Regions from separate parts of the Homo sapiens genome. Here regions 1 and 2 are each linked to region 3. The links are contacts of gene promoters, found by promoter capture Hi-C in blood cells and fetal thymus (Javierre and others, 2016). All regions are on one chromosome and are shown on one strand. The core of a region is centred on a gene start or on the middle of the fragment in contact, and the rest is flanking DNA. Distances in the headings are between cores, read along the strand shown. Region 1 overlaps GOLGA7 (golgin A7). Region 2 overlaps GPAT4-AS1 (GPAT4 and GINS4 antisense RNA 1). Region 3 holds the start of POLB (DNA polymerase beta).

Region 1 (4,030 bases), core at 1,427-3,926, 840 kb after region 3:
GCCCCACAGCCTGCCCATCTGTATGCTCTCCTAGAGGTTTGAGCAGCAGGGTACTGAAGAAGCAAGCCACACCCCATCACACGCCCTGCGAGGGGGACAAGAGAACTTTTCCTGTTTCAACATGGGGAAGGATATAAATAACTATACTTAAATATACCTGTTTATATGAGATGGAACAGGATGGTAATGAAGAATACAACAGCATTTTCAGCCAACAGCTCCAAAAACTTTAGCTGCAACTATATGCACTCTCCACTACATGGAGTGTAAGACATTTCTATCAGATGGGTCATAATATATTCTTATAGCATTTCGTTTTCTAAGCACTGTCAGAATTTAGTGATATACCAGGGGCTTACCATGATTAATTTACAGTCATTTATTTAACATACATTCAATGAGTGCCTGATATACCCAAAGCATGGTGTTAGGCATGAAGAGGGATACAAAATGGTTAAGGCATTGTCCTCAAGAAAAGTACATACTTGAAAGGCAAATAAGACAAGAAAATAAACTGCTACATTCCAAAGAAGAGTGAGGCAAGTGCCAGAAAACAGATACAAATAAAATGTTGTAGGGACACAAGAGAAGAGAAAGAATTCTGACTAAAACAGAGAACAAGTTAGATGGAAGTGAGACCTAAGGGACTGGTGGGATTTGAACCTGGGAAGATAGCATTCCAGGTGGAGGAGAACCACAGTGGGTATGTTTGCTGACCAGTGAGGGATGGAGTTTGGCTGAGGGAGAAAGTGAAGGAAGGAATGGGAGGTAGCGCTGGAAAGGTAAGCTGAGGTCAACTTGAGCAGGGCCTTGAATTTTACTCAGTGGTAAAACATGGGAATCCAGGGAAGGTCTCCGACTTGGCAGAAGTAGTAGGGGAAGTAAATCTGCGCTTTATAAAAACAACAGCAGATAGTTTAGAAAAGCAAAAGGAGGGAAGAAATGAGACAAGTCAGACTATTTCAATAGTCTAGGAGAGACAGAATAAGGGCATAACCCAGGATAGTGGCAGAGGAAATCACAAAAAGTTAATGACTGGGAAAATGAAAGATACTTCAGTCTTTGAAAACAGATTAATTTTTCCCTCTTCTTCATCCCTCATGCCCAAAGATGGTACTGAAAAGACAGGGGTGCTATTGACAAAATGGGGAGGTGGGAGGTTTGACTTCTGGTCATCTTAAGTTGAGAAATCAGCAATTCGGGAGCTAGTAGGCAGCTGGAAAGAGAAAGTAAGAACTCAGGTGGGAGAAGAGAGTGAAATTTAGGGAAATAAAGTAAAAACATTCCCAGAAAGCTGAGTAGGAAGAGAACATATAGATTTTCTACATTCTTCTTAAGTGTAGGCCAGTCTGAACATTGACACATCATCTGCAAGTGGACATACCAACTGCAACCTGTTTTGAAAGACTCAGGACTATGTGCCTCTGTACACAGGAACAACACAATTTGAATGATAAATGCCCCTAAATATTTTACGGCAACTATCACCATGTAAGCATCAATGTGTAATAAACTTGCCTTCTTCATGATTTTAAGAGATTTTTGTGAAAACAAATGTAGCATTACCTTCTCATAATGAGTTTCCATGCATAGGAAGATGGTATATGCTGTTAAACAAGCCAAACAACCTTCGAGATATGACTGGCCGCCGAGCTTCTCTGCTTCTGCATAAAGGTTATTTAGAGTTCGAACTGTTTCTTCAAACTGCTGCCTATCAATCTGTAGAGAAGAAAATATTTAAAAATTAAGTTTTGGAAAAAAAAAATCAACTAATGCATGCTATCATTAATTTATCTTGTTTTCTCACCATTCTTAGTTGACAATTTTTTTGGTGACTAAATCTGGGCCTAAGTTACCAAAACTGCTTAATTTGTTTAATTTTATCCCTCTTATAAATACTGGATAGCTTCAAGGCTCAATAAGGTACTTCTTTATTCTTTCTACTAAATTTCAAGTAACTTTAGGCTCTATTCCTCTTTCCATTCATTTAGTTTCACACTTACTGAGCGCCTACTATCAGATACTATGAAAAATCTCAAGATAAAGCACTGTCTCAATCCTTAAGAGTTTAATTATGCAAGCAGAACAGGCAATGTAAACATAAAAATGCAGTAAGCTGGCCAGGTGCGGTGGCTCATGCCTGTAATCCCAGCACTTTGGGAGGCTGAGGTGGGCGGATCACGAGGTCAGGAGATGGAGACCATCCTGGCTAACATGGTGAAACCCCGTCTCTACTAAAAATACCAAAAAAAATTAGCCGGGCATGGTGGCGGGTGCCTATAGCCCCAGCTACTGGGGAGGCTGAGGCAGGAGAATGGCGTGAACCCGGGAGGTGGAGCTTGCAGTGAGCCGAGACTGCGCCACTGCACTCCAGCCTGGGTGACAGAGCGAGACTCCGTCTCAAAAAAAAAAAAAAAAAAAAAGCAATAAACTGACAGGGTACTATCATATAGGCAAATATAAAGCCTAGTGGGGACACAAAAGCAAGGAGAAATTCCCTTTATCTGGGAAGGGCAGGTAATCTTAAATTGAGTAACTAAAGACTGGAATTTACTAGGCAAAAAAAAAAAAAATGGCATTTTAGCAGAAGGATCAAAAGGCGTAGGTTCTATATTCTGTTTACTCAGCCTATCTCTTTTGAAGCAATTATCTTGTTACTAAATAAGGTAAAATTTGTTAAGGTAAAATCTCAAGCTAATAAACAATTTTTCACATTAAGTCATTCTTATTACCTCTTTCTATTTGGTGACACCATTATCTTAAATTTACACTAATACTACCACAGGTTGAGCATCCCTGATCTTAAATTCTGAAGTCAGAAAGGCTCCAAAATCTGAAACTTTTGAGCACTGACATGATACCACAAGTGGGAAATTCCAAACCCGACCTCATGTGAGGGGTCACAGTCAAAATGCAGGCGCACAACACATAGTTTATTCAGTGTCCCCAAGAGAAAAAGACCCTTCCAGCCCCCATCAGCTGCCATGTATCTTTTCCATGCACAGCCAGATTCTCCCATGCAAGCGTGCTCACAAAGGGTGATAAGATGGTTCAGTGTACACACACTTTGTCTCATAAAGTCATTTAAAATATTGTATAAAATTACCTTCAGGTTATATGTATAAGGTGGATATAAAACATAATGAATTTCGTGTTTAGACTTGGATCCCATTCCCAAGATATCTCATTAGTATAAACAAATATTTCAAAATCTAAAAAAACCCCAAAAACTGAAATACTTCTGGTTCCACATATTTCACATAAGAAAGAACCTGTACTGTCATCCATTGTTTCACTCAATCATCTGCTTTTACTTTATTCTTCCAATATTACTTTACTGTCTTCTAATAGTACTTTGTATAACAGATTTCAAATTTTGCTACTTCATCCCAGGACTTTCAAGGCCCATTAGGAGAGCAATCATCCAATACTGCCATTCTTATCTGTCTGCACTCTAGGCCTTCTCTCGCATAAGGATTCCCTTATTTCTAAAATTAATAACTACTTACGTATGAATTCTCTCTTTTATGAAGTCCTTATTTAAAAGACTTTTTTGTTTGGCTTTTTTTTTTTCTCCTTTCCTGTCTCTGTGAACCTATTAAATCTTTCTTTATAATAGAAACCGACTCAGAAAAAAAAAAATCAGGCTGGCGTGGTGGCTCATTCCTGTAATCCCAGCACTTGGGAAGTTGAGCTGGGTGGATCACTTGAGCTCAGGAGTTTGAGACCAGCCTGGGCAACATGGTGAAACTCTGTCTCTACTAAAAATGCAAAAATTAGCCAGGCGTGGTGGTGCATGCCTATAGTCCTAGCTACTCAGGAGGCTGAGGTGGGAGGATTGCTGGAGCCTGGGAAGTGGAGGTTGCAGTGAACTGAGATCTCACCACTGCACTCCAGTCTGGGTGACAGAGTGAGACCCTGTCTCAAAAAAAGAAAGAAAGAAAAAAAACCCTCAACATACAGTATGAGCCCTACTATTCACTATTCCCAAGAATGTAATCTTTTTTTTTTTTTTTTTTTTTTTTGAGAC
Region 2 (4,186 bases), core at 654-3,153, 790 kb after region 3:
GTATTTTTTTTTCATTTTTTTCTTAGCCAAGTTCATGAATCTTCTGAATTGCATGGTCCATGAAACCCAGATTTAAAATCGCTGCTTGAGGCTGTTGGAAGCACTGCTGTCTCTCAGCTACCACTTGGCCTGGGCAAATGCTGTATTGACCCCCGCTTTTTTTTTTTTTTTTTTTTTTTTTTGAGATGGAGTCTCGCTCTGTTGCCCAGGCTGGAGTGCAGTAGTGTGATCTCAGCTCACTGCAAGCTCCACCCCTCGGGTTCATGCCATTCTCCTGCCTCAGCCTCCTGAGTAGCTGGAACTACAGGAGCCCGCCACCACGCCTGGCTAATTTTTTGTAGTTTTAGTAGAGACGGGGTTTCACAGTGTTTGCCAGAATGGTCTCAGTCTCCTGACCTCGTGATCCGCCTGCCTCGGCCTCCCAAAGTGCTGGGATTACACACGTGAGCCACCACGCCCGGCCTGTATTGACCTCTTTTGACTGTGGTCTTCTAGATCTTGGTGCAACAATTCCTCACTAGCTTGTTAGCTCCTTGATGGCTTTAGAAAAATGCTTTTTATGTTTCACCCAGTGTTTGTCTTCACTAAAAATGATCCATATGGCCTAGTCCACCACTACAGCAGCAGAAGGCCCAGTACACTGCCAGGTTACCTCTTCCTGCATGTACTACAAGACCCTCATTCCTTCTGGCTTGGATTTGCCCACACAGCCCTGGCTCCTAACCCTCCAGTGTGACCTCCATTCTCCACAGTCACCAGAGGGATTTCTCTGTGAACTGGATTTCTAAAAACGTAAAACTGGGCTGGGTGTGCTGGCTCATGACTGTAATCCCAGCACTTTGGGAGGCCAAGGCAGGCGGATCACTTGAGGTCAGGAATTCAAGACCAGCCTGGCCAACATAGACAAACCCCGTCTCTGCTAAAATACAAAAATTAGCTGGGTGTGGTGGCATGTGCCTATAGTTCCAGCTACTCCAGAGGCTGAGGCATGAGAATTGCTTGAACCTGGGAGGTGGAGGTTGCAGTGAGTCAAGATTGTGCCACTGCACTCCAGCCTGGGTGACAGAGCAAGACTGCCTCAAAAAAAAAAAAAAGGTAATAATAATAATAAATAATAAATACATAAAATAAAAATGTAAAACGGATTCTATCAGGCGGGTGCAATGGCTTATGCCATTTGGGAGGCTGAGGCAGGCGAATCACCTGAGGTCAGGAGTTTGAGACCAGCCTGACCAAAATGGTGAAACCCCATCTCTACTAAAACTACAAAACTTAGCCGGGCGTGGTGGCGCATGCCTGTAATCTCAGCTACTCGGGAGGCTGAGGCAGGAGAATCACTTGAATCTGGGAGGCGGAGGTTGCAGTGAGCCAAGATTGCGCCACTGTACTTCAGCCTGGGGAACAAGAGCAAAACTCTGTCCACCCACCACCCCCCCCTGCAAAAAACAAACAAACAAACAAAAAAACTGATTATATCAAATATTAAAATCTTTCAGAGCCTTCTAAATGTTTTCATGCAAAATTCATACATTTACATTTTAGCATGACAAATCAGACTCCTGAAGACTTTTGTCTGAAAACCTGTCTCCCATGAGACTCCTATAAGACTCCTCCAAGATGGGAAACTGCCTCTCCTCCTATCCCCGAATCTTGTCTGATGCACCTGCCATGCCCAACTCCTGGGAGTTTCCAGAGTACTGGATCCACCCTGTGGCTTCTGTGCCTTTGCATGTGACCTTTCTGCCTCCAGTAGCCATCCTCTCTTCCTTCCTCAGCCTGGCTAGCTCTCCAGTGTTTCAAGTCTTGGCTTGGGTACCACCTCTTCTGGGAAGACTTCAGGACTCTTCCAGTCTTTCGAGTTCTTCCTGTGTTTTTTCATAATACCCCCTGTTCATTCATTTTTTCTTTTCTCTTTTTCTTTTTTTTTTTTTTTTGAGGCATGGTCTAGCTCTGTTGCCCAGGCTGGAGTGCAATAGTGCCATCTTGGCTCACTGCAATGTCCTCCTGTTGGGCTCAAACAAACCATCCTCCCACCCCAGCCTCCTGAGTAGCTGGGACTACAAGCACATTCCACCACACCTGGCTTTAGTATTTTTGGTAGAGGTGAGGTTTTGCTGTATTGCCTAGGCTGATCTAGAACTCCTGGGCTCAAACAATCTTTCCATCTTGGCCCCCCAAAGTGCTGGGATTACAGAAGTGTGCCACTGTGCCCTGCCCATTCCTACCTTTATACAAGCATAGTATGCTGTGATTTGGTTTTTGTTGGTCTCCCTCGCTAGACTGTAAGCTGCTTTAAGACAGGGGCTTTCTTCTCTGAATGTGCAGCACATACCACAATGTCTAACCCCACCTTTTTTTTTTTTTTTTTGAGATGCAGTCTCACTCTGTCATCCAGGCTGGAGTGCAGTGGCATCATCTCGGCTCACCTGCAACCTTCACCTCCTGGGTTCAAGCAATTCTCCTGCCTCAGCCTCCCGAGTAGCTGGAATTACAGGCACCCGCCACCATGCCCGGCTAATTTTTTTTTTGTATTTTTAGTAGAGATGGGGGTTTCACCATGTTGGTCAGGCTGGTCTTGAACTCCTGATCTCAAGTGATCTGCCTGCCTCGGCCTCTCAAAGTGCTGGGATTACAGGCGTGAGGCACCGCACCCAGCCAGCCTACCTGTTTGTTGACTAAAGTGAATGGAGTTATACCTGGCACCTGCTGTTGTTACTAGGTCACTTACCTCACCTGGCCACTCTTTTTAAACAAGTGCTGGAGTGAGAGGACACTACACCTCCTGCCTTCATTACCACTTTTGCTTATGAATTTTCCTACTTAGGAATTCATATGCTGTCAAATGGCTTATAAATCACTCATTCCCATACATGTTTTAAAAAGTGGGAACTAATATATATCCAAGTTACTAATATGTACTTATATATCTTTTATGTAATTCTTCCCCAAATTTGGGGTAGCTTTTAAAATTAAGGCAAAATAGAAGATTGAAACTGTAGGTATCATAAGGAGATCGGAAACTATTTAAGGAAAGACACAAGGAAGCTCAGAGGGAGGCAGGGGCACACAAAGTGGCTCTGAGTTCCTGGTAGGAAGGCCGGGAAGGGGAACAGATAGGACTCATTTGTCTGATAAAATGAACCATAAAGTTTGAAAATATAAACTTTTACTTGCACTGAATTCTGAGAAAAATTTATTACAGGGATTCTTATATAGAAACAATGGATATGTAATAGATAATGCCTTCAGTTCTAATTTTCAGAAAACATGGAAATGTTTTTCACATGGCTGTCTCTTTGCTAAAAGCAAAGAACTAAAACATTCATCCAGAAATACTGACTAATGGGATCCAGTTTGATACAGAAGTAAAAGTTGGATGGCTGGGAGTGGTGGCTCATGCCTATAATCCTAGCACTTTGGGAGGCTGAGGTGGGTGGATTGCCAGAGCTCAGAAGTTCGAGATCAGTGTGGGCATCATGGTGAGACACCATCCATATCTACAAAAAATACAAAAATTAGCTGGGCGCCGTGGTATGCGCCTGTAGTCCCAGCTACTCTGGAGGCTGAGTCAGGAGAATCGCTTGGACTCCAGGAGGCAAATGTTGCCGTGAGCCAAGATCACGCCACTGCACCCTAGCCTGGGCGACAAAGTGAGACTCCGTCTCAAAAAAAAAGTTGGAGAACCAAGAGAAATGGACTGAAGAAACAGCCCTTCGGCTCTCTCGTGTTAGTTGTTAAACTGTTGACAAGAGTGTGGGCAGCAGCCTACCCATGAGCTCACTAAAGAGGACCCAAAGGGTACACGTTATGTTGTTGACTGGAGATCAGAAAGCTTCAGATGCCAGAAGATGGCAAAGTTGATGATCTTCTACACAAACAAAGGAGGCCTGCTACAGTCTCACCTGGATTGAGGACCAAATCACTTGTCCGGAGGTTGAGGGCAGCCACGTCTGCAAACAGAAGTGGGAGTGGACAGCACACGCTTTAACACGTGAAGCTGGGTGTGGGAGAGGCCATTTCTCACTGTTATTTTCATGACCTATTCTGGAAGTGAGATTGCAGGCCGACCAGAAAGCTATGTGTGCCCAAATCACTCCAGTGTTTCTCATATGAAAACTTGTACACCTTACTTAATTCCCCAAAGAATTTGGTGGGATTTTAATAAAATAGTAAAACTGTAGATATT
Region 3 (3,712 bases), core at 136-2,635:
GCTAAGGAGAGCTGACACCGAGGCTGATGCCTGGAATCCCAGCACTCTGGGAGACCAAGGTGTGTGGACCATTTGAGTTTAGGAGTTGGAGATCAGCCTGGGCAACATAGCAAAACCCGGTCTCTACAAAAAAAAAAAGAAAAAAAAAGAAAGAAAAAAAAATTAGCTGGGTGTGGTGGCGTGCGCCTGTAGTAGTCCCAGCCACTCAGGAGGCTGAGATGGGAAGATCACTTGAGGCTGGAAGGTTGAAGCTGCAATGAGCCATGATCATACCACAGCGAGACCCCGTCTCAAATAAAAATAAATAAATAAATAAATATAGGCTAAGGAGTAGAAGCAGGTGGATGTGGAAAGAATGAATAGGATAAGGCCCCTGGTGAGATGAACAAGGACAGGATCCCATGAACAAGGAACAAGGATCAGGATCAGGATCCCACAGGATCAACTTTAGACCAACCAAAAGAAAAAATGTGATTCCTTGAACCACATATATTTCACAGTATGGACTTCATCCGCTGTCTTTCATTACGGTTAAAATTACACCGCATTTCTAGTAATTCATGTTTGATGATGACAAAATACGTATCAGGCTACAGCTATCTGCAATCAGAATTGGGAACTTATCTGAACTGATCCTATAACGCACTGCCCACATTCTTCAAGAAATAGTAAGGTACCAGCCTCGATTCTTGCTTTTTCCCGCTCTTGCAGATGGACCAAATATCCACTGGGCCCTCAGTCCTGTTAATTGCCACACTAAACAGGGTATCCCAGAACGTATGCTACCCGAGAATGCTGCACTGTCCCACCTGTAAGCATTGTACTTGTGGATAGCTTGGCTCACGTTCTTCTCAAAGTTTGCGAGTTCTGAAAGGCAACAGAAGGCTCGGGTGAACAAGAACCACGAGTAAACAAACGAGAACTGTTTTCTGGAAGGGGATATGGCAGCCTCTAAGAGACAGTGACCACCCGTTTCCTCCAAGGGCCAGACCAAAAGCAGCCCAAGCGATGGCCCAGGTGTAGCCGGCAGGACTGACAACCAGCCAGGGGCGCCGGAGGGAGATCCCCACGGAAGACGACCCGCTGCAAGGAACCTACCCTACCCACTGGACTGTCGGTGTGGGAGAGAAGGAAGGCAGGGGAAGAGGCTGGAAGGAAAGAAGAAAGCCAGCGGGGCCCGGCCCGGTGCTAACCTGTGAGCATGTCGGTGATTCCCCCGTTGAGAGTCTCCTGCGGCGCCTTCCGTTTGCTCATGGCGGCCTGCACCCGAGAACCCCAGAGTGTTCAGAACCAGGGACTAGAGCCCTCTCCCAGCTTGAAGGAGGTACCAGGACTTGGAGACGGGAGCAGGAGCAACCCAGCTCCGGCGCGACCGGCGGAACAATGGTTGCCCCCGATGGGGGGCGGGGCGCACGGCGCTTGTTGTGACGTCACGCGTCCTGGGCGGGGCGGGGCGGGGCTAGAGGGGCGAGCCCTCGGCAGGTGAGGAGAGAGAACTCGGAGGGTTCGTGGACTCGTGGACGTGGACACGGCGCGGGGGAAATAGGCACCTCAGAATGACAGCCCAGGGGCCTTCCTATGGGAAGACCTGGAGTTTTGACCTAAGATATTAAATCTGTTTTCTCAGTGTTTATCTGGAATCCTTTCCCTAGAAGGGGAAACGGGAGTGCGATCTTGATTCTGAAATACTTGCGCTGGTGGGGTAGCTTCCTGCACAAAAATGTGCACTGTAATAGCTACCCAATGCATGGCGCGTTTTGTACGTGGTTAGAGGCGACACTGGCGTCACACTGTCAAAACTTTCTCTAAGGATACCGGGCAGTCCACACTCCAGTGCAGCCCCTTACGTACTAGGGCGCTGCCGGAGCCCGGCGTGAACCATGCCGAGAACAGGAATCCTCCCGCACACGTGTTAGTACACCTGCCAACCAGTGTCAAAAGATATTTTATTTTTAATCCCCCTGCCTTTGCGGTAGGGACCAAATTAATGAAGAGACCACAAGAAAGGGAGAAGTGTTTCATCTAGATCATGAGCAATGGAACCCTAATTATAACATGATGACCTACATCTGAGAAATTTACAGTCTGCTTGAGAAATGGAAATGTCACATCAGCAATAGTTTATTTTACAAGCGTAACTCCTGGGTTCATATCGAACTGCAATTCCAGGCAATTGCTTTGTGCATCGAAAAATTAAAATTTATTACAAAATGATACGTAGTTGCTGTAGAGAAATCTGGAAAAATGTATAAAAGGAGAAAATTAAAATCAGTGATCTCACCCTACAGCTGAACTATTAATATTTTGGGACGTACACTTCTAGTCTTCTAACCCAGTCTATTAAAAATTCCCATTATTTTCCAATAAATATCATTAGTTTCTTTGATTAGCAAGGTTGTGGTGATTGTGTTTCCTTACAATATCAGTGTATATCTTAAGTTATGCTTATTGGAAATCTGTAATTCTTCTTTTTTTGAATTTCCTATTCATATCATTTACCATTTTCCTAATGGGGGTAGTTTGTTACTAATCTGGTAGATCTTTTCTATATATTACTACTTGCCCTTTTATGGATAGCTTTTGTAAAAATTTTGTACATATTTGTATTTTCCTCAATTTATTACTTGAGGAATAAAAGTTAAAAAAACTTTATGCCTGCAACTTAACTATCTGATTAGTTAAGCTGCAGTGAGCAGTGACCACTCTCATTTACTCTTTATACTCTCATTTACATATATGACTTGTCCTAGTTTTCCCTGTTCACACTTTTTTCTGTCCAATCTCTATTCCAGGTGATATTCAGATTATTTTGCTCTGAAGAATTATTCCTCCTTAAATAAAAATGTATTTACCTCTGAATTTTAAAAGTTACAAATGTAGGGAATTGTGGGATCAGTTTTACAAATTTTTTTGTTTTGAGACAGAGTTTCACTCTTGTCCCGCAGGCCAGAGTGCAATGGCACGATCTCGGCTCACTGCAACCTCTGCCTCCCGGGTTCAAGTGATTCTCCTGCCTCAGCCTCCCGAGTAGCTGGGATTACAGGATCCTGCCACCATGCCCAGCTAATTTTTGTATTTTTAGTAGAGATGGGGTTTCACCATGTTGGCCAGGCTGGTCTCAAACCCCTGACCTCAAGTGATCCACCCGCCTTGGCCTATTAAAGTGCTAGATTACAGGCGTGAGCCACTGCACCTAGCCCATTTTTACAAATACTATATTTTTAAAATTAGTGCCAGAGAAACCAAGGAAAATAATCCATTATCTGTCCTTATCGTCTTAGAACAACCGACATTTGATCTGCTTCACAAAGTTCTTCTTGAAATAACTTGCTTCAATTGGCTTCTAAGATTCCACATGCTCTGGGCTTCCTTTTTCCTCACTGGCCAGTCCTCAGCAGGGTGTGTGTGTGCGCACATGTGCGCCTGAGCACTGGTTCCCAGCTCCTCCTCCACTCTCCAGCCTTTATGGGAAATGGCTTCACACTTCAGTCTTCTAACCAGCTTTTCCAACTTGTCCAGTTTTACCTGTTTAAATGGCATGTCTAGCTTGAAAGTCTCCTAAACTCATAGTTCAAGTCTTGACCTCTCCCTTGAGTTCCAGTCTCATACATCAGGCTGTCTACTGGATAGCTCTAGTCCATAATAGGCATCTCAAAGATAAAATGTCCTAAAGAACTCCTGACTCTTGCCCCACCAGCTTCTCCTTAACTTT

The links. Contacts are between HindIII fragments. The CHiCAGO score rates a contact against its expected background, and 5 or more counts as called.
Region 1: a fragment that was not itself captured here is called in contact with the fragment with the promoter of POLB in region 3 in 1 of 17 cell types (neutrophils); the score reaches 5.9 in neutrophils.
Region 2: a contact is called between a fragment that was not itself captured here and the fragment with the promoter of POLB in region 3, in 1 of 17 cell types (neutrophils). The highest score is 6.2, in neutrophils.

What each region holds. Positions count from the first base shown.
Region 1 is chr8:41,495,198-41,499,227 of GRCh38, reverse strand. GOLGA7 (golgin A7) reads right to left here. Exons shown (of 5, transcript NM_001002296.2): 2 at 1,567-1,719. Among named protein-coding and RNA genes, the nearest start is that of GOLGA7, 6.6 kb to the right of the region's middle. The HindIII fragment of the contact is 6,770 bases long and covers 1-4,030 here.
Region 2 is chr8:41,548,872-41,553,057 of GRCh38, reverse strand. All of the region lies in intron 1 of GPAT4-AS1 (GPAT4 and GINS4 antisense RNA 1), which reads left to right. Among named protein-coding and RNA genes, the nearest start is that of GINS4, 22 kb to the right of the region's middle. The HindIII fragment of the contact is 3,862 bases long and covers 1-3,834 here.
Region 3 is chr8:42,336,167-42,339,878 of GRCh38, reverse strand. It overlaps POLB (DNA polymerase beta), which reads right to left and starts at 1,385. Exons shown (of 14, transcript NM_002690.3): 1 at 1,194-1,385; 2 at 810-867. The coding sequence starts at 1,254. The HindIII fragment of the contact is 11,887 bases long and covers 1-3,712 here.